Regions from separate parts of the Homo sapiens genome. Here region 1 is linked to region 2. Evidence: promoter capture Hi-C in human tissues and cell types (Jung and others, 2019). All regions are on one chromosome and are shown on one strand. The core of a region is centred on a gene start or on the middle of the fragment in contact, and the rest is flanking DNA. Distances in the headings are between cores, read along the strand shown. Region 1 overlaps EPS8L1 (EPS8 signaling adaptor L1). Region 2 holds the start of GP6 (glycoprotein VI platelet).

What was found. The method cuts DNA at HindIII sites, captures the fragments that hold promoters and counts their contacts. A contact is called where the count stands out against the background at its distance.
Region 1: a contact is called between a fragment that was not itself captured here and the fragment with the promoter of GP6 in region 2, in 1 of the 25 tissues and cell types used here (neural progenitor cells).

Annotation. Positions count from the first base shown.
Region 1 is chr19:55,081,919-55,085,061 of GRCh38, reverse strand. It overlaps EPS8L1 (EPS8 signaling adaptor L1), which reads right to left. Exons shown (of 20, transcript NM_133180.3): 10 at 2,882-2,970; 11 at 2,713-2,787; 12 at 2,460-2,608; 13 at 1,543-1,684; 14 at 1,418-1,446. Among named protein-coding and RNA genes, the nearest start is that of EPS8L1, 7.6 kb to the right of the region's middle. The HindIII fragment of the contact is 6,949 bases long and covers 1-3,143 here.
Region 2 is chr19:55,036,521-55,039,602 of GRCh38, reverse strand. GP6 (glycoprotein VI platelet) reads left to right here and starts at 1,339. Exons shown (of 8, transcript NM_016363.5): 1 at 1,339-1,400. The coding sequence starts at 1,367. The region is part of intron 2 of GP6-AS1 (GP6 antisense RNA 1); the gene reads right to left. It also overlaps a transcript of RDH13 not described here. The HindIII fragment of the contact is 34,893 bases long and covers 1-3,082 here.

The DNA.
Region 1 (3,143 bases), core at 586-3,085, 45 kb before region 2:
CCCCCAGTTTCTTCCTCCCCCAGAGACCCTATGATCTCCTCCATTTTCACAGAGGAGGAAGCTGAGGCACAGGGATGTAAAGGTCACAGAGTAAGAGAGTGGCATCGCCAGCCCGGGACCAGGGTAGCCCAGGTCTGAATAATGCTGCCTTAGTTTGCAGGCAGCTGGACTTGAACTTGAACCTGGTCACAGCCTTAAGCCCTTAACTGCTAGTTCCTACAACACCACAGACTTCTCACTGTTCCGGGAACGGATAATCATTATTCCCAGTTTCCCTGCAAAAAAGAACTTGAGGCTCGGAGAAAGTGACTTGAAGCTGTGAACAGGGACCAGGGTTGCGATATCAGGCAGCTGGGGGCAGGGGTGGGATTTCAGCTCTGACCCCCAATAAGAGGGACCTCAGCCTGGATCAGGCCTACCTGTGCAGGGGAGAGGGGGGGTCTTCAGGGCCGCGGCACCCCCTGTGTGGGGCCGGCAGCTCCCAGCACGCTGTCCCTGCTGAGACCCTCTGCTCGGGCCCTCACCCAGACCCCCCTTTGTCTCCTCCAGCCTCACTGCTTTGTTTTCGTCTCCTCCCACGTTGCTTCCCTCCAGTCTGCCCTCTATTTGCTCAAGGACCCTAGAGTTCTAGTCCATCTACCTCCTTCCCTCCCCCAGGACCCAGAGTCTGAGCCCCCACTGCTTGGTAGAACCATGACTTGGAATGTTCTTTCCTCCCCCAGGGACCTAGGAGTCCAGGTCTCAAGCTTCAATCTTATCCTTTTAACCCTCAAACCTTTTAACCCAGTCCGACACCCAGCAGCGACTTAGACAATTGCATTAGAGCCTCTGGAAAACCAAGAGTTTAATCGTCCAGCCTTTACCCCTCTCGGGGGCCCAGAGATACTACCACTTCCTAACTTTCCCAGAAACTTGCCCCCAAGCCCTTGAAGTCCCAAGCCTGCTCCTCTGGGTCTCCAGGATCCCAAGCACCAGACTTGGGCTCTTCTTCAAAACCCAAAGGTCCAATTCCCCAGCCTCTCCCCTCCAATATCCAGGGCTCTGTCCTCCTAGGGAGCCCAGGCATGGTGCTTCCCAGGCCCTGGGAAAACAAACTGGCTTCTTCCAGCCTTTTGGGGATCCAGGGATCCAACCTCTCAGACTTTACCCACTCCCAGCCCCCTTCCTCCCTTAGGCCCAGGAATCCGGGTCTCCATTCCCAACTCCCTTAGCCCCAGAAGTCTGGGTCCCGCCCCCTCCCACCCTGCTCCTCCCTCTCTCCCAGCCCCGGCCCGCCCCATCACCATCTCACCCACCTGAGAAGAGCCAGGAAGACAGAAGGAAAAACACAGAAAAAAAGGGGGCGGAGTCAGCATCGGGAGCCCCCGGGACGCACCCCTCCTTGACCCCCTTGCCCTGCCCTGGGGCGGACACTCACCCATTGACAGCGACCTGGGGGGCGCTTTGCTGTAGGAAGTAAGACAGTCGGGTCAGGCGGGGCCAGGCGGACCGGCCGCGCCCCCGGACTTCCCAGCCTCGGCCCTGCTGTGTCGCTTGGGTCACCTGCCGGCGCCTCCGCTCGTGCTGTAGCTGTTTCTCAACTGGGTCCTCCCAGGCGCGGCTCTGCGGGTCAGTGACCGGCGGCTCCCAGCCGCTGAAGAACTCGGGTCTGTATGGGGGTCCCTCCTCCGGGGACAGCTCCAGCCTGCGGCCAGGGACAGGGCCAAGAGCTCAGGGATCCTGATACAGCCCCCAACTTCGTTCCTGCATTAACTTCACTAAGTTTTCCCCTAAAGCTCGCTGTATTCCAACGATTCTAGCCCCGCCACTTTTCACCAAGTCCTGCCGGTAGCTCTAAGCCCAACTCAACAGCAATTTATATTTCTAGACCGGGCACGGTGGCTCACGCCTGTAATCCCAGCATTTTGGGAGGCCAAGATGGGAGGATCGCTTGAGGCCAGGAGTTCCAGACCAGCCTGGGCAAAATATTGAGACCCCATCCATCTCTCTCTCTGGAAAAAAATTGCCTTATCCAGCCTCTAAATCTCACCTGATTCCAAATCAGGTTTTCCGTAAGGTCGGTTTCAGGTTCTGACCCTTTCCCTGCGGAACTGCCAGCCCGCAGTGCACAGACTCTGTCCCATCACCAAAGTTATAGACCAAACCTTCCAGAAGCCCCGCCCCTTCGCGTAGCCCCGCCCCTGCCCCGTAGCCCCTAGCCCCTCTATTCCTTTAAGCCCCCCTTTTCTTTCAATCCGATTGGTCTGGTGGTCTTAAATCTTTCCTTCACGTTAATTCCTGGCCTTTCCTCCAATTGAATCTTGGCATCTGTCCTAAGCCCCGCCCCAACACAACTAAGCCACGCCTCTAACCCCTCCCTACTCTCCTAGTCCTATTTTCCAATCATCATGCCACCCACCTCCCAGCGCCTTATGCTCCTCCAATCACCATGCCCCCTGCCTCCCAGCCCCGCCCCTCACCCGGGGCGGGTCCACGAGTCCCCCAGCGAGGTCCAGAGCTCGTTTTCACGTGGAGTGACGTTGTCCCGCAGCAGCGCCACGGCATCCGATGTCAGATGCGGCCGCCGCACACTGCTCGCGAACTCCGGCCCCCCCGACGTGTTCACAATCTGTCAGGGGAGCAGGAGGGGCAGGCTGTGCCGCCACACCTTCTACAAGTCGAACCCGATTCCTCCCGCTGCAGGGGGGCCCGAGGGCCTGGGGCGGGTCTCACCATCTGCAGAGGCCCGAAAAGGAAGTGCAACAGCTCCGGAGAGGAGGGGTCGGCGATGTTGCCGCGCAGCCGGGCCTGGGGCGTGGGGAGGGAGGTGGTTGGCGTGGGTGCGGGGACGGGACAGGTTCGTCGTGCCCGCGCCCCGGCCCAGGGGCGGGCGCGTCCTCACCAGCAGGCTGAAGGCGTACTTGATCTTCTGCAGCACGTCGGTGTACTCGGCCTCCGAGGGCGGCTTGGCCCGCAGCGTCAGCAAGCCCTCTGAGGGGAGCAGACGGGCGCGGCGATGGGGACGCGGGGCCAGCACCAGGCAGGCAGAGAGAGGTGGACACCCGGTTAAGATGGCGGTGAGGTCAGCCCTGGCAAGTGGCGGGAGGGGAGAGCCTGGGGAGAGCGGGGACATTTGGAAGAGATCGGGAGGGGGTTCAGATCCC
Region 2 (3,082 bases), core at 90-2,589:
CCTAAAGTACTAGGATTACAGGCATGGGCCACCACGCCCGGCCTTATTTTTATTTTTGAGACAGTCTCACTCTGCCGCCCAGGCTGGAGTGCAGTGGTGCGATCTCGGCTTACCGCAATCTCTGCCTCCCAGGTTCAAGCGATTCTCATGCCTCCGTCTCCCAAGTAGCTGGGATTACAGGCACCTGCCACCATGCCCGGCTAATTTAACGCCCAGCTAATTTTTGTATTTTTAGTAGAGATGGGGTTTCACCATGTTAACCAGGCTGGTCTCGGACTCCTGACCTCAGGTGATCCGCCCGCCTCGGCCTCCCAAAGTGCTGGGATTACAGGCGTGAGCCACTGTGCCTGGCTGATTTTTATTCTTTTAGTTAAGGCTGGTTGATATTACCTTGTGTGTATATACCACATGTTGTTTATCCATTGTTGTTGATGGACATGTGGGTGGTTTCACCTTTTGGCTATTGTGAATAAAGCTGCTATGAACACTGTGTACAAATATGTTAGAGACCCTGTTTTCAGTTCTTTTAGGTGTGTACCCCGAAGTGGAATTGCTGGATTTTATGGCAATCCCACGTTTAACTTCTGGAGGAGCTGCTGGAACTGTTTTCCACAGCAGGGGCGCCATGTTACGTCCCTGCCAGCAATGCACGCGCAGTTCAATTTCTCTGCATACTCACCAATATCTGCTGTTTTCCATTAAAAAAAATTATAGCCGGTCGGGTGCAGTGGCTCATGCCTGTAATCCCAGCACTTTGGGAGACCGAGGCAGGTGGATCAACTGAGGTCAGGAGTTCAAGACCAGCCTGGCCAACACAGTGAAACCCCATCTCTACTAAAAATACAAAAATTAGCCTGGTGTGGTACATACCTATAATCCCAGCCACTTGGGAGGCTGAGGCAGGAGAATCGCTTGAACCTGGGAGGTGGAGGTTGTAGTGGGCCGAGATGGCGCCACTGCACTCCAACCTGGGCAAAAAGAACGAGACTTTGTCTCAAAAGAAAAAAAAAAAATACAGCCATTCCAGAAGGTGTGAAGTCATATCTCACTGTGGTTTTGATGCGTATTTTCCTAGTGACATCAGGGAGTTTATGGGAGCACGGGAACACAGACCAGGCCCCAGCAGGCGGACAAACGGTGCAACGCCAGGCTGGCCAGAGGAGATAAGCGCGGCTCCTTGGAGCTTGTGTGCAAGTCACTGTACTGAGGAGCCGGCTACGGCTCGATGAGTCTCAATTAGGAAAGGCCGGGGCTGGTGGAGGAAGGGAGGAGAGCATTCTTCATCCTCATCACATCCTGAGCCTGTGCCCCAGGCTCCCACCACTTCCCTCCCTGGCCACAGAGCTCAGGACAGGGCTGAGGAACCATGTCTCCATCCCCGACCGCCCTCTTCTGTCTTGGTGAGTCCTGAGGGTCAGATCTGGGAAATGCTGAAGGACAGGCATGGACTGCCAGACAAAGGATTTTTAAGAAATTTGCATTGGTGATGAATTTCAGGACAAAAAGGAACCTGTAAGAGCCCCTTCATTTGTTGGGTGGGGAAACGGGGGGCCAGCGAGCTGGCATTTTGCATGAGTTATTCCAGTGTATTCATGGCTGGGTCAGGAAATGAACAGAGTATCCTAGCATTGGTCACAACTTTGTTCTACTACACTGCAGTTGCCCCTTTTTTAAAAAATGTGGGCCAGGCACAGTGGCTCACGCCTGTAATCTCAACCTTGGGAGGCCGAGGTGGGTGGATCACCTGAGGTCAGGAGTTCAAGACCAGCCTGGTCAACATGGTGAAACCCCATCTCTACAAAAATTAGCCGGGCGTGATGGCGGGTGCTTGTAATCCCAGCTACGTGGGAGGCTGAGGTGGGAGAATTGCTTGAAACTGGGAGGCAGAAGTTGCAGTGAGCTGAGGTCAGGCATTGCACTCCAGCCTGGGCAACAGAGAGAGCCTCCATCTCAAAAAAAAAAAAAAAAAAAAAAAAAAAGGCTGAGTGCCATGGCTTACACACTTTGGGAGGCCGAGGCGGGTGGGCCATCTGAGGTCGGGAGTTTGAGACCAGCCTGACCAACATGGAGAAACCCCATCTCTACTAAAAATACAAAATTAGCCGGGTGTGGTGGCACATGCCTGTAATCCCAGCTACTCTGGAGGCTAAGGCAGGAGAATCGCTTGAACCTGGGAGGTGGAGGTTGCGGTGAGCCAAGATCACACCATTGCACTCTGGCCTGGGCAACAAGAGCGAAACTCCGTCTCAAAAAAAAAAAAAAAAAAATTGTGGAATTGATATCTGGACTAGGTATGGATTTAATTTGTCAGTATCCCCTACAGTAGTGGAGTAAATAGTCTCCTGATGGATGGGTGGCAGGTCGAATGCATTTCTGCTGCCTGATCTTCACTTGTGCTGGGCATGTCGAATGCATTATTTCCTGATTTCTTCAGAATTTGACCACTAAAGGGACAGCATCTCCAAAAGGCTAAGCAGGAAGAAGATGGTTGCATTACTGGAGATGAGAGGGTTAACTGTGAATATAAACAACCTCTCATTCATTATCCATCCATGGATGTATTCTTTTTTTCTTTTTGTTTGTTTTTTGAGATGGAGTCTCGCTCAGTCGGTCGCTCAGGCTGGAATGCAATGGCATGATCTCAGCTCACTGCAAACTCTGCCTCCCGGGTCCAAGTGATTCTCCTGCCTCAGCCTCCCGAATAGTTGGGATTACAGGCATCTGCCACCAGGTCTGGCTAATTATTGTATTTTTAGTAGGGGCGGGGTTTCACCATGTTGGCCAGGCTGGTCTCAAGCTCCTTACTTCAGGTTCCACCCGCCTCGGCCTCCCAAAGTGCTGGGATTACAGGCGTGAGCCACCGCACCCAGCCTGTTTTAACTTTTATTTATTTAATTTTATTTGAGATAGGGCCTCACTTCTGTCACCCAGGCAGGAGGGCAGTGGCATGATCATGGCTCACTGCAGCCTCAACCTCCCAGGCTCAACCAGTGCCTCCCCATCAGCCTCCTGAGTATCTGGAACTACAGTTGTACACCATCATGCCTGGCTTGTTTTTGTAATTTTTTTAGTTACGGGGGTC